Regions from separate parts of the Homo sapiens genome. Here regions 2 and 3 are each linked to region 1. The links are contacts of gene promoters, found by promoter capture Hi-C in blood cells and fetal thymus (Javierre and others, 2016). All regions are on one chromosome and are shown on one strand. The core of a region is centred on a gene start or on the middle of the fragment in contact, and the rest is flanking DNA. Distances in the headings are between cores, read along the strand shown.

What was found. The method cuts DNA at HindIII sites, captures the fragments that hold promoters and counts their contacts. A CHiCAGO score of 5 or more calls a contact.
Region 2: a fragment that was not itself captured here is called in contact with the fragment with the promoter of BOD1L1 in region 1 in 6 of 17 cell types (total CD8 T cells, naive CD8 T cells, activated CD4 T cells and 3 more); the score reaches 10.5 in total CD8 T cells.
Region 3: a contact is called between a fragment that was not itself captured here and the fragment with the promoter of BOD1L1 in region 1, in 5 of 17 cell types (naive CD8 T cells, non-activated CD4 T cells, total B cells and 2 more). The highest score is 12.0, in naive CD8 T cells.

Annotation. Positions count from the first base shown.
Region 1 is chr4:13,626,141-13,629,146 of GRCh38, reverse strand. It overlaps BOD1L1 (biorientation of chromosomes in cell division 1 like 1), which reads left to right and starts at 1,422. Exons shown (of 26, transcript NM_148894.3): 1 at 1,422-1,802. The coding sequence starts at 1,560. MIR5091 (microRNA 5091) reads right to left here and starts at 1,282; the gene lies at 1,190-1,282. RefSeq lists enhancers at 532-1,262, 1,266-1,425, 1,263-1,993 and a silencer at 1,566-1,765. The HindIII fragment of the contact is 7,220 bases long and covers 1-3,006 here.
Region 2 is chr4:15,640,898-15,643,745 of GRCh38, reverse strand. The region is part of intron 2 of FBXL5 (F-box and leucine rich repeat protein 5); the gene reads left to right. It also overlaps a transcript of FAM200B not described here. Among named protein-coding and RNA genes, the nearest start is that of FBXL5, 13 kb to the left of the region's middle. The HindIII fragment of the contact is 2,309 bases long and covers 389-2,697 here.
Region 3 is chr4:15,673,130-15,675,929 of GRCh38, reverse strand. It overlaps a transcript of FBXL5 not described here and a transcript of FAM200B not described here. Among named protein-coding and RNA genes, the nearest start is that of FAM200B, 7.3 kb to the left of the region's middle. The HindIII fragment of the contact is 8,677 bases long and covers 1-2,800 here.

The sequences.
Region 1 (3,006 bases), core at 173-2,672:
ATGAAAATGAAAAATGTTTAGATATTCTCCAAACTTTCAGTATATCAGGTGAAAGGTACACCTCATTGAAAAAATCAGGTCTAATTCATAGTCATTTGGTATCTTGGTAAAACCTATCTGGTATATTTCCCAGAATCTGAAAGAGTGAAAAAATAAGGATTAAGTAAACAAATCCTTTGGCAAGCCAGGTGGTTTTCAGCTCTTTGCTTTCCATAAAATAGAAGGAGGGCCTAATTGAAGTCAGCTCATAGATAATCAAATCTAATTTTTTGAGGTCAAGAATTGAATGATATTGCTACAACAAAACTCTTCCATTCCTAGGCACAGTACTTGTTTATATGAACAAGGTTTCTCAGGGCACACAGCTATAAAAATTACAAATAGGAATAGAATTGATGCTCAACCCTTCTTTTCCTACTAATAAGATATATTCAGCCACAGATGTAGGAACTTTAAAAAGCAACAATATGCATTTTTCAATAAAGTTACACACACTATTTAGTAATTATGAAATTTTCTAATATTTATGTTGCTTTGACCACGTACTAATAATAATTTCAAAGATGATGCAGTCCAAAAGCAGGTGATTTGCTAGCTGTGTAATCTTACTCAACATACTTAATTTATCTGAGCCTTGGTTCCCTGATTTGCAAACTGGGGACAGTAATCAGACCTAGCTCTTAGTGTTTGTCCAAAGATTAAATGCGTTAATACATGTAAAAGCACTTAACGCCACGCTTGGTACATAATATGTGCTATAGATGTTTTACCTGCTATAATCATAGTAATCAATAGCAAATCTCCTAAAAATAAAAGCCTGTCGATTTGTCTTCACAGATAGGAAGAACGGGCTGGAGGGATCGGATCTAATCCACAGGCACACTGCCAGAAACAAGGGACCCCCACGGGGAAATGGTATGTGCAGGCAGAAGAGAGACAGAAGGAACTTGGAGCTACCTGCTGGGACAAGAATAGTGCAGGATCACAGGCTAAGAACGAAGAGGGTTGGGCGAAGTTAGAATGAGCAGATCCACGTAGGGTTCGCATTACAAATGTCTATGGATCTCTATGCACTGCTCCGGGAAACTGGAGCAAGAGAGGCAGGCCTAAAATGCCGTCGCGGATGAAGCGGGGCCAGAAACGCACTGCCCCCGCTCAGACCTAGGGCCCCAGGTGTCGCGCGGGTCGAAGCCCTAACCTCCAGGGACTCCAGACCCCTGCCGGTGACCTAAACCCCACAACCCGCGACCAGCACAGTCTTGTCGTCTCCGTCGCCACAGTCGCCGCCACTTCCGGCGCAGCTCGGCCTCGCGAGGGCGCTTGCGCCCGGCGACGGTCGAAACTGGCTCTTCGCGGCCTCCGTCGCCGGACTTTCGTCAATGTTGTCACCGTCTTTTCCTCCTTTCCCCCAGTTCCCTTTCACTTCCGGGGTTGCTCTGGATCCGCTGGTTCCGTAACAACATCCCGTTGGCTTCCCTCAGGCGGCGGGACCAGTGCAGCCGCCGCCTCCCAGGATCGTCCGCCGGTCAGGGCCCTTGCCCTCCCCGGCACAGGCCACCATGGCCACCAACCCACAGCCGCAGCCGCCTCCTCCGGCGCCGCCGCCTCCCCCGCCGCAGCCGCAGCCGCAGCCACCGCCGCCGCCGCCGGGCCCCGGGGCTGGCCCCGGCGCGGGCGGGGCGGGCGGCGCGGGTGCGGGCGCCGGGGACCCGCAGCTCGTGGCCATGATCGTGAACCACCTCAAGAGCCAGGGGCTCTTCGACCAGTTCCGCAGAGACTGCCTGGCCGACGTGGACACCAAGGTTAGGAGCGCGCCGGGTTTGGGGGTCTGCGAGGGAAGGGGAGGACCCAAGGGCGCGCTTCTTTTGCAGTGGCTTCCTCTTGGAGCTGCAGCTGTGTGCCACGGACTGTGCAAAGCACAGAGTGTTCATTCCTTAGCGTGTCCTTTGGTTCGTTTTACCGACTAGTGTTTAAGTACCTACTACGTGCCAGTCATGGTTTCGGCACAGTGATTACCCCGGTCTGATGAGCAAGACTAAGGCATTGTTCTTACAGGAACTGGTTTGGAAACAGTGGCGCTAACAGTAGCCAGTTTTGTATTCATTCTCATATCTGATGATTTTACTTTGTATCGAAGTTATGTTTGCCTTCTTTCTTGAAGGTTTCTGGGCGGTAAGGGCCTTTATCCTTTGGAGAAATGACTAAATGGTAATTGAATCAAGTTATGTGTAATATGCTTTGCTGGACATCGTGGGGGTGGGAGCGCAAAGATAAGGAGGCAAACCTGAGACAGGACTTTAGTATTGTTTCTAGCAGTGATTGCCTGATTTAGGTAACTTAGGCCATGTCACCATTCTAAGGTAAGAAGGGACAGGAAGGTGGGGTAGAGAGAACCGAGTCATTCAGTGGAGAAAAGATGCAGGAGAGGTGACAGCAGATACTGAAGTGGAGAAAGGACAGGAAAGAGAGCAGATTCAGGAGAGTAATGTAGAGAAGGGAAAGGACAGCAACAAGGTTCCCTGTCCAGAAAGAGAGGCTGGAAAGGGGAAGGGATTTTGTACCAAATGTCAGAGTGAAAGGGACATTAGCAGGAACAAGTAAACTTAGCTGGATTGGCAAAGAATTAGCCAAAGACACCAGGAAAGAGCAGTCAGTGAGATGGATGGAAAACCACAGTACAGTCTAGAATTCTGGAAGCAGAAAGCATGTTGGAAAATTAACTGGTTTGTAGGGGTTGTTTTTGTCTGCTTGTTAAATCTGGTTGGGTCCATTGGATTGGAGTTTTGATGAAATGAGGGTTTCCTTTTTTTTTTTTTTTTTTTTTTTTGAGACAGAGTCTCGCCCTGTCGCCAGGCTGGAATGCAATGGCGTGATCTCGGCTCACTGCAACCTCCGCCTCCCGGGTTCAAGCGACTCTCCTGTCTCAGCCTCCCAAGTAGCTGGGATTACAAGCGCGTGCCACCACGCCCTGCTAATTTTTGTATTTTTAGTAGACACAAGGTTTCA
Region 2 (2,848 bases), core at 294-2,793, 2.0 Mb before region 1:
ATAAATTTTTACTTGTTTTAGAATTGAATACCAGCCAGGTGCAGTGTGCAGTGGCTCACATCTGTAGTCCCAGCACTCTGGGAGGCCGAGGCTAGTGGATCACTTGAGGTCAGGAGTTCTAGACCAGCCTGGCCAACATAGTGAAAACCTGTCTTTACTAAAAATATAAAAATTTAGCCAGACATAGTGGCAGGCGCCTGTAATCCCAGCTGAGGCAGGAGAGTTGCTTGAACCTGGGAGGCGGAGGTTGCAGTGAGCTAAAGATATTACTGGGTATAGTTTAGGATAATGATGTAGAGAGACTTTCTTCTTAATTACATTTACATATTATAGGATTTTGAAATTTGATCTTAGTTTATTTCCCTTCTGGCTTGGTGAAGCGTAAGCTTAAGTTACAACTCTGTTAAGCCACCATGTGCTCCTCACCTGGAGATTTATGTTCTGGAAAGGCTGTTCTACAGCTTAGGGAGGATGGATTAAAGATAAAGAAAAGACTAAAGGAGGAAGACCATTATTAAAAAATTATTCTAATAGTTTCTGGAAGAATACTTAGTAGCTACTTGGTGGGGAGGTGTGGGAGGTTTGGTTGGGGTAGGGTACTAGATAGTAATATTAATAGAAGGGAGATTTACTTTTTTATTGAATATTCTTTCGTATTCTTTGAATTTTGTATCATATTATGTATTGCCACATGAATACACCTTCGACAAATCTGAACTAAAGTCATGACTAGTAGAAATAAAGGGGAGGGGATCAGACTTGAGAATTATGTAGGAAATAAAATTGATAGAATGTAGTGATTATACTTAAAGGGAGGATGAAAGAAGAGAAAAGAAATAAAAATGAGGATTCAGCCTGACTTTCTAGAGTATATAGAAGAGGGTCAGGAAATAAAAAAGATTCATTCTTGACAGATTAGGTTTGAACTGCTTGTGTAATCCAGATGGGCATTTATGAATAGGAGGTGGTAAAGATGGATTTCATGGTCAGAAGAGTGACCCAGTATGAAAAAGCAAATTTGATAGTTATTATTAGCATATAAGTAGGAATGGAAGCCATGTGGATATGCTTAGGGAAAATGTGTAAAGTCGTAAGAGAACAGGACATTAGACTGAATATTGGGAAGCAGTTGAATAAATTAGTTCTGGAAAAAGAGACCAGAGAAGACTTAACAGAGATAAAATATTTTCATATTTTAAAAGTTTTCATAGGCTGGGCATGGTGGCTCATCCGTGTAATTCTAGCATTTTGGGAGGCTGAGGCGGGCAGATCACTTGAGGTCAGGAGTTCGAGACCAGCCTGGCCAATGTGGTGAAACCCCATCTCTACTAAAAATACCAAAAAAATTAGCTGGGAGTTGTGATGGGCACCTGTAGTCCCAGCTACTCAGGAGACTGAGGTGGGAGAATCGCATGAACCTGAGGTTGCAGTGAGCTAAGATTGCACCACTGCATTCCAGCCTGGGCAACAGAGCAAGGCTTGTCTTAAAAAAAAAAAAAAAAGTTTTCATTATTTTATAAATTTTCCACATGCTTTGAGAGGGCTGATATAGAAGTGGGGAAATGTGATTTTAGGTTATGAGGAAGAAGTTTATAGCTCCTTAGAATTGCCCAGAATTAGAATGAGTTACTTCAAGATATAGTGAGCACCTTGCCTTTAGAAGTGTTGATATTGATATATATGACCTTACATCAAATAATTTTTTCTTTTTTTTTTTTAAGACAGAGTCTTGCTCTGTCACCCATGCTGAGGTGCAGTGGTGCAATCTCGGCTCACCGCAACCTCCTTCTTCCAGGTTCAAGCAGTTCTCCGTGCCTCAGCCTCTCGAGTAGCTGGGATTACAGGTGCCCATCATTACACCTGGCTGATTTTTGTATTTTTAGTAGAGACAGGGTTTCGCCGCGTTGGGCTGGCTGGTCTTGAACTCCTGACCTCAGGTGATCCGCCTGCCTCTGCGTCCCAAAGTGGTGGGATTACAGGCATGAGCCACCGTGCCTGGCAGGATAATGTTAACAGGTACAGTTGACCCTTGAACAACATGGGGATTAGGGTTGCCAACACCCTGTGCTGTTGAAAATCCACGTATAACTTTTGAATCTCTCAAAACTTTACTTACAGCCTACTACTGTTGACTGGAAGCCTTACCAATAACATAAAACAATCGAATAACAATTATTTCATGTATTATATGTAAAATATATATACTGGATTCTTACAGTAAGGTAAGCTAGAGAAAAGAATGTTACTAAGAACATCATACGGAAGAAAAAAATCTATTCACTATTTATTAAGTGGAAGTGGATCATCATAAATGTCTTTATCCTCATTGTCTTCACATTGAGTAGGCTGAGGAGGAAGAAGAGGTGGGGTTGGTCTTGCTGTTGCAGGGGTGGGAGAGGCAGAAGAAAATCGGTAATTAAGTGAACCCGCACAGTTCAAACCTGTGTTGTTCAAGGGTCAACTATATTCTGAGTTTTTTAGTGGAGGAGACACTAGATGACCATAAAGGGATTCTGTAATGATACAGTCCATTAGGCTTGGAGATACATTAAGAGAACTGACATGTAGAAATTATATAAATGTATATAATTTATATATACATCAATAAAAGCTGTGGGCAGATACGTGCTATTTTTAGACTTTTTATGATATTTTAAAAATATGGGGTTACATACATTACTAAAGTAATTCAAAGCTTACTGTTTTATGGGTATCTTTTATGTTAAAAGTACAGAGACCACTTTGCAATTTGTCTATTTTTTTTTCCCCGGAGGTTTTATGTCACATTTTAAACTTCCTGGGACCAGACATAATTAATGAAGCGAAACTTTTATAAAAATGTATTTTT
Region 3 (2,800 bases), core at 285-2,784, 2.0 Mb before region 1:
GGTAGTCAGAATAGCATTTCTGCGTATTCAACTAGAACAGGAGTTTTGGCTGGGCGCGGTGGCTCATGCCTGTAATCCCAGCACTTTGGGAGGCCGAGGCAGGCGGATCATCTGAGGTCAGGAGTTCGAGACCAGCTTGGTTAACATGGTGAAACCCCATTTCTACTAAAAATACAAAAAATTAATGGGGTGTGGTGTCAGGTGCCAGTAATACCAGCTACTTGGGAGGCTGAGGCAGGAGAATTGCTCGAACCTGGGAGGCAGAGGTTGCAGTGAGCTGAGATGGCGCCATTGCACTGCAACTTGGGCAGCAAGAGCAAAACTCTGCCTCAAAAAAAAAAAAAAAAAAAAAAAAAATAGGAGTTTTGTGACCGAGAAGTTAAGACATAGTGAAGGTTCAACTCCTTGAGTGGTTCTGTTTTTGCACTGCCTGTGTGGTAGCTAAGACTTGAATTTGAAAGTAATAGTTAGAGGGGTTAGATAGGATCTAAGCCTGAAGGCTGGTAAATCCAGGATAGGAACAATGCAAGAAAATCTTTATATACTATAGTAGTAGTTGGTCATTTAGTCCTAAATAATTTTTATTTGTGGTACTTATTCACCTCATTTTTATATACTAGTATTTTGCTTCCCATATTAATTTCTACTTGTCTTATAAATGTTAAGTATAAATTAATCTTAATTTGAAGAAAATGAATTATGGAACAAAATATAGGAAGTGAAAACTAGAGGGAGGTAGCTTTCCTCTATAAATTATGTGACTTAACATAAAAAATCAATGATGTGGAAAAGTCTTCTACAAGCCTGGTTACACATCACAGAAATACCTTACAGTTGCTTCATCTGTTTTGATGCATAAAGTGTTTTGTAGTGGCAGGCCCACTGCTTTTTTTTTCGTGATTCCTAGTGAACTGATGGGAATTTGTGCAAACAATGATTGTAGGTATATGACAAATTAATTTATCATTAAAAACCATAACCGACTGGGTGCGGTGGCTCGTGCCTGTAATCCCAGCACTTTGGGAGGCCGAGGCAGACGGATCACAAGGTCAGGAGATCGAGACCATCCTGGCTAACACGGTGAAACCCCGTCTCTACTAAAAACACAAAAAATTAGCCAGGCATGGTGGCATGCGCCTGTAGTCCCAGCTACTAGGGAGGCTGAGGCAGGAGAATAGTGTGAACGTGGGAGGCGGAGCTTGCAGTGAGCCAAGATCGCGTCACTGCACTCCAGCCTGGGCGACAGAGTGAGACTCTGTCTCAAAAAAAAAAAAACCCAAAAATCCCATAACGTTGATAATCTTCTAAGATGATAGAAATGAGTTGATAAGGAGAAAAGAAGGTTTTATGATTAAAATGAAAGTTTCATGAGTAATAATTTTGTAAGGAAAAAAGTTATGATTACATATAATTTCACTAATATATAAACGTAAAATGGAGAAATAATCCCAAATAAATACAATATAATAAAAATTGGGGGACATTTTATTTAAAGTGATGAGTGTGCTATGTATTCATAAGTTGATTTCAGTTTGGGATCTCAAGTGCAGTTCTCACATACCCAGTACAGTGTTAACTCTGTTTCTTTGTTTTTATGGGTTAAGAATTAAAAGTACCAATAGCGGTACTACATTCATGCCACTTAGCAATGAACAATCCTATTTCCTCCAAAAGAATGATACATCATTATGACATAGGGCTAGAGAATTAAAAAAAAAAAAAAAACACGATGCATTTGATATTTCATAATCATTCTTTAGTATTTCCAGAGAAGTAAGCTACAATATTTCCTATTCTGCAGGCACCAAGCATAACTCAGTTTTTGATTCAGAGTGTTGGAAAACAAATCTATCCAGTTTTTTCCTTGAATGTATCAATTTTTGTTCTGGCATGTAATGGTTAAAAGTTTGATACAGGCCAGAAACAATAAAAAATGGACAAAATATATAAAACAATGTTTTCCAAGATATTGGATATCAGGCAATGAAGGACAGTGAACCTTGATCAATAGGAAACAAAGTGAGTCCTATGATTGCCTCAGTTTATTGCCTTGGGAGAATTTCTAAGCCATAGTACAGGGAGAGGGGAACATATGCAGCCTAGTGGAATCCCTCTGTTGATAGAGCCTGGAGCCTGGTGAAACCAGTGCAGCCAGAGTTTGCTAGAAGGGAGAGAGCTGCATAGAGAGAGAATTCTAGTGATCTGGAATGAATCTCTCCTGATTCTTCAGGTAAGTATTGATCACTGTATGCATGTGAGGAAATGACCTGAGGCCAAGGAAAGGATCATCCAAAAATATTACAGTACAGTCTTGGATCACATAAAGACATTTTGTTCAATGATAGACTTCATAAGATTATAATGGAGCTGGAAAATTCCTACCACCTAGTGATGTCATAGATCTCAATGATGATGTCTTATGTGTCTGTGGTGATGCTGGTCTACTGTCTTGCTGATACATTTATCCTTATTTTATCTTTATTTTTTTTGAGATGAGGTCTCACTCTGTTGCCCAGGGTGGAGTAGAGTAGTGCAATCTTGGCTCACTGCAGCCTCGACCTTCTGGGCTCTGGTGATCCTCCCACCTCAGCCTCCCAAGTAGCTGGGACTACAGGCACGGGTCAACACACCCGGCTAATTTTTTGTATTTTTTGTAGAGACAGGATTTTGCCATGTTGTCCAGGCTGGTTTCAAACTTGTGGGCTCAAGCGATCCAGCTACCTCGGCCTCCCAAAGTGCTTATTACAGGTGTGAGCCATTGCACCTGCCCTATTGTTATTTTAGAGTATACTTTTTCTAC